2 separate regions of the Homo sapiens genome follow, and region 2 is linked to region 1. Evidence: promoter capture Hi-C in human tissues and cell types (Jung and others, 2019). All regions are on one chromosome and are shown on one strand. The core of a region is centred on a gene start or on the middle of the fragment in contact, and the rest is flanking DNA. Distances in the headings are between cores, read along the strand shown. Region 1 holds the start of PXMP4 (peroxisomal membrane protein 4). Region 2 overlaps RALY (RALY heterogeneous nuclear ribonucleoprotein).

Region 1 (5,113 bases), core at 1,372-3,871:
TTACATAATTGCCTCTTTTTAAGATTCAAACCTCTTCCCCCACCCTTCCTTTCCCCTCCTCATTTAGGGATCTAGGAATGACGTGAACAAGACCATGTTTACTTTCATTGTTTTAACTATACTCAGATGAATAGTAGAAAGACAGTGGTATTTGGGCCAAAGCCCTGCCATGTTTTGCTATGTGAGCTTGGATAAATTAGTTAACCTCTCTGAACCTCCCTTTTCCCATCAACAAAAGGTATTCTCCATTTTACAGAATGGCTTTTGGCAGTTACGCACATATAAAAGTTCCTAGGTCAATCAATATTAGTGTCTCTTCTTTTCTTACTCTTCTTTATTGGACACCTCCACCCCTACCCCTATCCCTAAGTTCTCCAGGTACCCAACCCTGGTCTTACCAGGCTACAAGGTCTAAAAATCCTGACAGCCTCCTTGAGACAATGGTCATGAGCCACATACTATTGTCTCCCCAAATATACATGAATGTTCACTGCAGGCTTGTTTGAAAAAACAAAAGACTGGAATCAAACCTGTGTCCAAGGCTGGGTGTGGTGGCTCACGCCTGTAATCCCAGCACAATGGGAGGCCGAGACAGGCCGATCACGAGGTCAGGAGATCGAGCCCATCCTGGCTAACACGGTGAAACCCTGTCTCTACTAAAAATACAAAAAAATTAGCCGGGCGTGGTGGTGGGTGCCTGTAGTCCCAGCTACTCAGGAGGCTGAGGCAGGAGAATGGTGTGAACCTGGGAGACGGAGCTTGCAGTGAGCCGAGATTGCGCCACTGCACTCCAGCCTGGGCAACAGAGCGACACTCCATCTCAAAAAAAAAAAAAAAAAAAAAAAAAAAAAACTTGGCAAAAGGGTTACTGATGTTATCTCAGGGCACATCAAGGATATGCCCTTGGCCAGACCCAGTGGGAACCAGTTCTACCTGACTCTTGAGTGTCCATGGGAGCCAAGAGCCTGGCACTGGTGCCAGGCATCCTTGGGTTTGAATCCCGGCTCCAACCGTGACCAAGTGCTGTGGCCACGAGCAATGGGTCTACCTCTGAGCTACAGCCTTTTCATCTGGAAAATGGGGACAATGGCAATTCTGATCTTGCACACTTATTCATTCATTCAATAAATATTTCAGAAACTACTAAATACCAGGTGCTAGTAATACACCAAGGAACAAAATAGATAAAGTTATGGCCTCATGAAACTTTCTTTTTTTTCCTTTTGAGATGGAGTTTCACTCTGTCACCCAGGCTGGAGTGCAGTGGCACAATCTCAGCTCACTGCAACCTCCACCTCCTGGGTTCAAGCGGTTCTCCTGCCTCAGCCTCCCATGTAGCCGGGACTACAGGCATGTGACACTACACCCGGCTAATTTTTGTATTTTTGGTAGAAACGGGGTTTTGCCATGTTGGCCAGGCTAGTCTCGAACTCCTGACCTCAGATAATCCGCCTGCCTCGGCCTCCCAAAGTGCTAGGATTACAGGTGTGAGCCACCGTGGCCAGCCTGTGCTAAGCATTTCACACATATTGACTCAATCCTGATAGTATAAGTACTAGTACCATGCCCATTTTACAGATATTGAGGCTTAGAGAGGCTAAATGACTTCCTCCAGATCACACGGGTAGGTGGGGCCAGGGTTCAAGCCAAGGCATCCACATCCTTCCCACCATCCCACGTTGCCACTAGGATGCCAATTCTGGGGGACACAAACCACTTTCTCTGGTTTGTTCTCTGCTTTGTCCCCGGTTCTGGCACTGTAGGCCCTCAATAAATGGTGGCTGTTATGCACTAGGTTTAAAGGAGACTGAGCTCCCCTCTAGGCACCAGCCAGGGCAATGACCCCAAGACCTCTCTTGCAGGTAAGATGCCAGGATAGTTGCAGCTTCTTTTACATTCATTGTCACGTCCCAGGAGCCCCCTGAGCCGAACGGGACTTAGCGCTGGAGTCCTACAGGTGAGAAGTGAGAAGCAGGATGCAAGCCCATGGGCAAGCTTCATGGGGACAGAATAGACAGGAGGCATCCGCCTGCCAGCTAGAGGCCAGAGTCCAGTTCCCCATTGTGCAGATGGGGCCGTTGAGGCCCAAAGGCACACAGAGAGGTGAGGTGAACTGAACCCAAATGAGGGGATACAGAAGCTGGCATGGGAGGAGTCAAAGCAAGAGGGCCAGGCTGCAAAGGTTGGAAGACCCAGAAAATGTGCAGTGGGAGCCCCAGTTCAGAGCTGGGAAGGCGCGCAAGCCAAAATCCAGCTCCCATTGCACAGATGGTGACCTCCGAGACTTAGAGACACACGAGGACTGCTCCAGGGCAAACAGCACCGCGGCATCGGACTTCGAACTCGCGCCTCTGACCCCAGGCAGGACATCCCTCAGCCCCAGCCCGGCCCGACGGCCCCACTCACACAGCCCCGTTCCGGAAGCCCTTAAGCACGGCCAACGCAGCGTGGTAGCGGCGCTTGCGCAGCAGTGCGTTGACGACTACGAGCAGAGCCCTTAGCTGCGGCGGGGCTGCCATAGTGCGGGCTGCGCGCAGGGTCGGGGTTAGGAACTGTAAGCGCACTGACAGCCGGAGGTTCCAGCTGCGCGCCCACAGCCCCTCGGTAGCGCCGCCGACTCGTGGCGTCTATAGGCTGTTTCTGCGTCACTCATGCATGGAAGACCAATCAGAGAGCGTACTTGTCTCATGGGACAATAGCACTCATCGAAATAGTTGTCTGACTGGAAGAGAAAGGAAAGCTTGTAGCCAATCACAGTGGGCTCCGCCCAAGGTCACACACGATTTGTCCAATCAGAAGGCACTTTCCCTTGGGCCATGTTGGGTTCACGAGTGGGTTTGGAAGGAGGCGTGTACTTGGAAGGAGGGCTCCTGAATGAGGAGTGGCCCTGCTTAGAGATGGGATGGGCGACAGGTGATGATACAGGGAGGAGCAGGGCCCCATCTTTATGCGAGATAGTTCTGACTGGGATATCCTTTACCATAGCGATCTTCCCAGAGTGTCAGTCACATGGCCCCTCAATGGCTTCCATGTACGTATGTATGTTTTGAGATGCAGCCTCGCTCTGTCACCCAGGCTGGAGTGCAGTGGCGCGATCTCGGCTCACTGCAACCTCCACCCCCCAGGGTTCAAGCAGTTCTCCTGCCTCAGCCTCCTGAGTAGCTGGGACTACAGGCACCCACCACCATGCCTGGCAAATTTTTTTGTATTTTTAGTAGAGACGGGGTTTCACCATGTTGGCCAGGCTGCTCTCCTGACCTCAGGTGATCCACCTGCCTCGGCCTTCCAAAGTGCTGGGATTACAGGCGTGAACCCAGCCGGCGTCCACTTATTCTTAGAATCCAAACTCCTCCCCAAGGCCCAAGAGAGAAGACCTCCTGTGATCTGGTCCGTGCCTCTCCCTCTGACCCCACGTTCCAGCACTTGCCACCTCACTGCTTCCCAGCCAAACAGCCTCCTTTCTGTTCCTTGGGCCAAGAACCCTTCTACCTCAGGGCCTTTGCACTTGCTGGTTCCCTGCTTGATATTCGCCATCCTGGGCTCTTCCCATGATGGGCTTCTTCTCATCCTTCAGGTTTCAGCTCAAATGCCACTTCATCAGAGAGACTTTCTGAGACATCCAATTTGAAGTAGCACTGTCCACTCTGACTCATTACCCTGGCTCTTTTTTTTTTTTTTTTTTTTTTAGACTGAGTCTCGGATCTATCACCCAGGCTGGAGCGCAGTAGTGTGATCTCAGCTCACTTCAACTTCTGCCTCCCAGGTTCAAGGGATTCTTCTGCCTCAGCCTCCTGAGGAGCTAGGACTACAGGTGCATGCCACCACGCCCGGCTAATTTTTGTATTTTTAGTAAAGACGGGGTTTCACCATATTGGCCAGGCTAGTCCAAACTCCCGACCTTGTGATCCGCCCGCCTCGGCCTCCCAAAGTGCTGGAATTACAAATGTGAGCCATCGTGCCCGGCCACCCTGGTTCTTATGTGTTTTTTTTTTTTATAGAACTTTTGACACTTTAGACTTGTTTACTATGTGTTCATTGTCCATTGCCCTTATCAAACTGTAAATTCTATGAAGGAAGAAATCTTATTTGTCTTGTTTTCTGCTGTAACCCCAACACTAGGCACATGGTGGGTACTCAACACTTGCTTGTTTAAGCAACACATAGTTTTGGGTTGTCATCTCTGAGAGCATTGATGGGTGACATTAACATATGATGTCACTATGTGGAGTTGTCACTGAATAACAGCTACACACTGAGTGGTGGCTGTGACTTGTGAGGGTGTCCCCTGGTACTTGGGCCATATGGTATTTACCAGTGATGTTATTTGCTCAGTGTCAGGGGACAATTTCAGAGGTCAATGAAGGAGGGAGTTGTGCTGGGCCTATTTTGTCACTGAAACTGGGTTGTCCGGGATTTTTCTTTTGTGATGGTAGGCTACTTTATTCAGTTCATCCTTCCTCTGAAGATAATGACTATGTTAGATAATATATTAAAATATCCTCTTAAAAACACTGAAGTTCCTTGGCTGGGCACAGTGGCTCATGCCTGTAATCCCAGCACTTTGGGAAGCCGAGGCGGGCGGATCACTTGAAGCCAGGAGTTCGAGACCACCCCTGACCAACATGGTGAAACCCCGTCTCTAAAAAATTAAAAAACAAAAACAAAAACAAAAAAACACTGAAGCTCTGCCAGGTGCGGTAGGTAGCTCACGCCTGTAATCCCGGCACTTTGGGAAGCCAAGGTGGGTGGATCTCTTGAGCCCAGGAGTTCAAGACCAGCCTGGGCAACATGGCGAAAACCCATCTCTACTAAAAATACAAAAATTAGCCAGGCCTGGTGGCACACACCTGTAGTCCCAACTACAGGTGCGGGAGGATCACCTGAGCCTGGAGAGGTCAACACTGCGGTGAGCGGTGATCACGCCACTGGACTCCAGCCTGGGTGACTGAGACCCTGTGTCAAACTGAAGTGCTTAAAAGTATGAGGAATGTGGCCGGGCACGGTGGCTCACGCCTTTAATCCCAGCACTTTGGGAGGGTGAGGTGGGTGGGTCACCTGGGGTCGGAGTTCGAGACGAGCCTGACCAACACAGAGAAATCCTGTCTCTACTAAA
Region 2 (5,113 bases), core at 1,514-4,013, 280 kb after region 1:
CACAAGAATAACTTCTCTTCAGACTTTAAAGATTCACCCTAATTGATTCTTACACCAATTAAAATCAACCCTTACTAAAATTAGGGTTCAGAGGAAGTTACTTAGTTGCCGTGGCATGATTATTTATGCTTGGGAGTCCCAACAGCCTTCCATCCCTAATCTCAACCATTCGTTCCAGGAATTTGGAGTACCTCCTATATGTTCTTCTTATGGAAAACATAAAAACCAACAAGACATAATTCCTGTCCACAAATTACTTTCAGTCTTGAGAGGAAGACAGATAAGTAAAGCAAATCCAGCCTGCCGCCCTGGCTCATATATTTGGATTGAGGGTTCAAACGGAAAATAACATAATTGGTGGCTGTATCAGTAGACAAGGAGACCAGTTTGATAATCTGACTTCCAGTGTGTAGACTTTATTTTTTTGGCATTCCCTTCTCTCCCTTCTGTTTTTTACAGATATTTATCCTCTGTTGCTAAGGTGTCCAACACCCAGTGTGTAAAGTCAAGAATATTAGAGTAGGGGACAACATTTCCTTTCAGGTTTAGGTGTCCAGATATCTGCATCTGGACACCCACACAGTTCTCTGGCTGGCTTCAGGAAGATTTGGTATTGTCTCGCTTCTTATGTAGAAATGAAGAAAATTAAGTTTCATGTTGAATTATTTTAAGTTTTATTATGCTCTATTTTGAAATAAAATAGCTCTATTTTGTATGCAGGTGGAATTATCTGAGGTGTGGTTTCTGGCATTTGATCAGTCTGTGATTTGATAATTGTGTTTATATTGTAGTTCGTGAAGCCCATTGCCACTGCCAGCCGCCTTTGAACACTTTGCAGCAAGGAGCCCTAGTAAATGGAAATGGTGGGCACATTGAGGCTCTCCTGGTTTTGAAGGGCTCTTCCCTCTTTCCTACCCTTCAGAGAGAAATATTACTTGGGATGCTGTGTTGTGCTCCCGATTTCTTCCAACAATTTAGCATTGCCTGTGGGGTCTGGAATAATAAGGCCATGTAAACTGGAGATGTCATCTTCTCTCTCTTTGAAGTTCCATTTTCTCATCTGTGAAGTGGGGTTAACACTCCATATCTTGCCTTCCTCACAATGGTATTGTGAGGAGCAAATTAGAACGTTGTAAAATCACATGAGACAATTTATATGTGAAGAATCCATCAGTCATTTGTCAGTGGTAATAGGTAAGTGGCAGAATTTTCCTTAAGAGGGGAGATCGATCTCTTTGTAGGGAGCAGGGAGAGTGATCTCAGCTGGTCTCTGGGATTGGGAAAAAGTGTGATGAAAGCATCTGGACAGGGGCAATGATGGAGCAAAAGACTGGAGGTGAACTGTTCAGCGGGAACAGTGAGTAAGTGTTCTCTAACCTCATACTGTAAGTCCTAGGTTAGGCATATGTTTACCTTTGGTAAATATGCCAAACAGTTTTTTTTTTTTTTTTTTTTTTTGAGACGGAGTCTCGCTCTGTCGCCCAGGCTGGAGTGCAGTGGCGGGATCTCGGCTCACTGCAAGCTCCGCCTCCCGGGTTCACGCCATTCTCCTGCCTCAGCCTCCCAAGTAGCTGGGACTACAGGCGCCCGCCACTACGCCTGGCTAATTTTTTGTATTTTTAGTAGAGACAGGGTTTCACCGTTTTAGCCGGGATGGTCTCGATCTCCTGACCTCGTGATCCGCCCGCCTCCGCCTCCCAAAGTGCTGGGATTACAGGCGTGAGCCACCGTGCCCGGCCTCCAAACAGTTTTAAAAGGTCTACCAGGTTACATGGTTAGTGATGAGAAAATTGCTGTTGTTCTGTGTTGTTGTAAATACTTGGCATTGTCTATCTTTTTCATTTGAAGCCATTCTGGTTAGTAGTTATAGATATGAATTTTAAGAACCATACTATGAATTCTCACATAGCAAGTACCATAAAGGGGTACAATGATTGGGAAGTTCAGAAGGGGAAGAGATTGCTTCCTTTGTACATGGAGGAGGGGCAGAGGGGGAGTTCCCAAGGAACATTTGTGGACCAGTGAGTATTTGTGCTGGACTTTGTAGGATAAGGATAATGACCATCTGTTGTCCAGGACCATTTTAATTTCTAATATTCTGTCTGGTTGTACTTACAGATTATGAAATACCAATCAATATTGCCATGTCTGTACCTTATCTCCCATACTATGCAGAAGCAACACCCAGTTATCTTTTCTCAACCGATGTGCTTCCCTTCCCCCCTTTTCCAGAAAGAATGGTCACAGGTGATTAGGCTGCAGAGATGGAGAACATTCTGTGCAATGGGAACAACTTGAGTAGAGGCACAGATGAATGACTAGACCGAGTAGTATCCATATTCCTGCTAATGAGCAGGTGGTGGAAGTGTCCCACACTTTGGAGATGGGTGATACCTTCTCATAGCCTCTCAGAGCAGAACAAGGTCATGTCGTTATGAAGCCAATTTGTATTTAAACTGGATAAAAGGATGAGAATGAGCTCTTTGCTTATACTTACATCATTTCAAGAAAGAAATTAATCCAGTAAACAGTCATACCTGAAGTATATCAAAAGAGAGTTTTTCTTCTTAAAATGGTTGGGGAGGGAATACTAAAACCTAAAGAACTTAGTCTCTCAGAGCTCATCTATTAGTTGTATATTTGCTCAGGGAAAAATTGCCATTTCTTTGTCAGCTTTTATCCTGCCGGTGGACCCTAGCTGGGTGTTTATTTTGTGTAGTTTTACCAAATCACTTTGAAGGTTGGCATGAACATTGATCATGTCTTAGAGCCTTTCCTCTTTGTTCTGTCAGCAAATATTAGAAAATGTACCTTAAATTACCTGGTTGGGGAAAATAGGGTGGCCCTGCCTCCTTCCAGAGAGCAGCATTTTCATGTTAAACATTAGTCAGCTTCTGATCCTGTGTCAGGTCGCGGGGTGTTTGTCAAGATAGACAGGGTGCTAGAGATGCCACTAGGGACATTCACTAGAGAATTTCTAGGCCCCCTCTCGAGGAGACTAGTCGAGTAGTTGATTTAAAAATCTGATGGGCTGGGTGCAGTGGCTCATGGCCTGTAATCCTGACACTTTGGGAGGCTGAGGCAGGCAGATCATGAGGTCAGGAGATCGAGACCATCCTGACGGAGTAGTGAAACCCCGTCTCTACTAAAAATAGCAAAATTAGCTGGGCGTGGTGGCGCGTGCCTGTAATCCCAGCTACTGGGGAGGCTGAAGCAGGAGAATCACTTGAACCAGGGAGTTGGAGGTTGTAATGAGCCAAGATCGTGCCACTGCGCTCCAGCCTGGTGACAGAGTGAGACTCTTTCTCAAAAAAAAAAAAAATCTGACCTGGGTTTTAAATGTTAACACAGCCTTGCATATTAGTGATATTGAGTGTCCACTGTGTTGAGATATCATACTTGGTACCTTTTGTTTATACTAATAGAGCTAATATTTACTGAAGGTTACTATGTGCGAAGCCTTTTATACATATAAAATATTATTTCATTCTCACCTCAACCCTAAGAAGTAGGTTGTATTGATCGTGATCATACAGATTGGAAACTGAGACAAAGGGAGGTTAAGAGATATGCCGTGGGCAACCACTGGTCTTTTTATAGTCTTCACAGATACGTCTTTGCAGAACGTCATACAGTTGGAATCATACAGTATGTAGCCTTTTCAGATTTGCCTCTTTCACTTAGTAATATCCATTTAAGTTTCTTCCATGTCTTTTTATGTTTTGATAGCTCATTTCTGTTTAATGCTGAATAATATTTCATTGTCTGGATGTGCCACAGTTTATCCACCTATTGAAGGTGTCATTGGTTGCTTCCAAATTTTGTCAATTATGAATAAAGATGCTATAAACAAACAAAAGAAAGATATGCCGTGGTCACGCTGCTGATATGATAGATGGAGTTGGCTAGGATTGAAACCTAACCAATTCCTCTTTATTTTTAATATGGAAAATTTCAAACATACACAAAATCGAATAGGTTAATGAAATATGATTTACCCATCACTTGGCTTCAACAGTTAGCAATTCATTGTCAGTCTTGTTTCATTTATACCCCTACCTACTTTTCTTCATTTTGTGCTTTGAAGAAAATCTCAGCTATCATATTTTGTCCTTAAATATTTCACAGTGTGTCTCTAAAAGATGACTTCTAAAAACAATTATAATGCCATTACCATCTTTATAAAGTGTAACAGTTCCTCAGTAAAATCAAAATCCAGATGATCGTGTTCAAATGTTCGATTGTTTTGTAAATGTCACAACCTTATTTTGATAGTTTGATTCAGGATTCATATAAAGTCCACACATGGTTCTTAAGTCTTCAAGTCTCGTTTAATTTGTATGGTCCCTCCTACAGTCACATGCTGCATAGAGATGTTTCAGCCAGTGATGGGCCACAGATATGACAGTGGTCTAATATGATTGTAATACCATTTTTTTTTTACTGTACCCATTGTATATTTAGGTGCACAAATCCTTATCATTATGTTACAGTTGCCTACAGTATTCAACACAGTAACATGCTGTATAGGTTTGTAGCCTAGGAGCAACTATACAGCCTATGCTATATAGTCTAGGTGTGTAGTAGGCTATACCACCCAGGACTGTGTAAGTGCACACTGGTGTTTGCACAGGGATGAAATCGCCTAATGATGCATTTCTCAGAATGTATCCCCGTTGCTAAGTGATGCATGAGTGTAGTTATCCCCCCCATTATTTGTTGAAGAAGCTGGATGTTTTTTTCTATAGATTTTTCCATGTTCTGGATTTTGCTCATTGCATTCCTATGGTGTGTTTTCTGTGTCTCTTTGTCCTCTGTATTTTCTGTAAGTTGTTGGTTAAGGACAATTTCTCTTAACCCTCATGACAACCCTGCAAAAATAGGTATTGTTCTTATTTTGTAGGTAAGAAAACAGACTGAGAGAGGTCGGGTGGCTTGTCCAAGGCCCCGCCTGGATTTGAACACAGGCCTACTTGTCTGCAAAGCTTTTGTTCCTTCATCACTAAACCACTCTGTGAGCTTAGGCAAATCATTTTAAGTTCTCTGGGTCAGCCGGGCACACCTGTAATCCCAGCACTTTGGGAGGCCAAGGCAGGCGGATCACGAGGTCAAG

The links. The method cuts DNA at HindIII sites, captures the fragments that hold promoters and counts their contacts. A contact is called where the count stands out against the background at its distance.
Region 2: a fragment that was not itself captured here is called in contact with the fragment with the promoter of PXMP4 in region 1 in 1 of the 25 tissues and cell types used here (H1 embryonic stem cells).

What each region holds. Positions count from the first base shown.
Region 1 is chr20:33,717,689-33,722,801 of GRCh38, forward strand. PXMP4 (peroxisomal membrane protein 4) reads right to left here and starts at 2,622. Exons shown (of 4, transcript NM_007238.5): 1 at 2,407-2,622. The coding sequence starts at 2,519. RefSeq lists an enhancer at 2,169-2,218. The HindIII fragment of the contact is 6,661 bases long and covers 2,368-5,113 here.
Region 2 is chr20:34,002,200-34,007,312 of GRCh38, forward strand. The region is part of intron 1 of RALY (RALY heterogeneous nuclear ribonucleoprotein); the gene reads left to right. Among named protein-coding and RNA genes, the nearest start is that of RALY-AS1, 10 kb to the left of the region's middle. The HindIII fragment of the contact is 6,853 bases long and covers 1-5,113 here.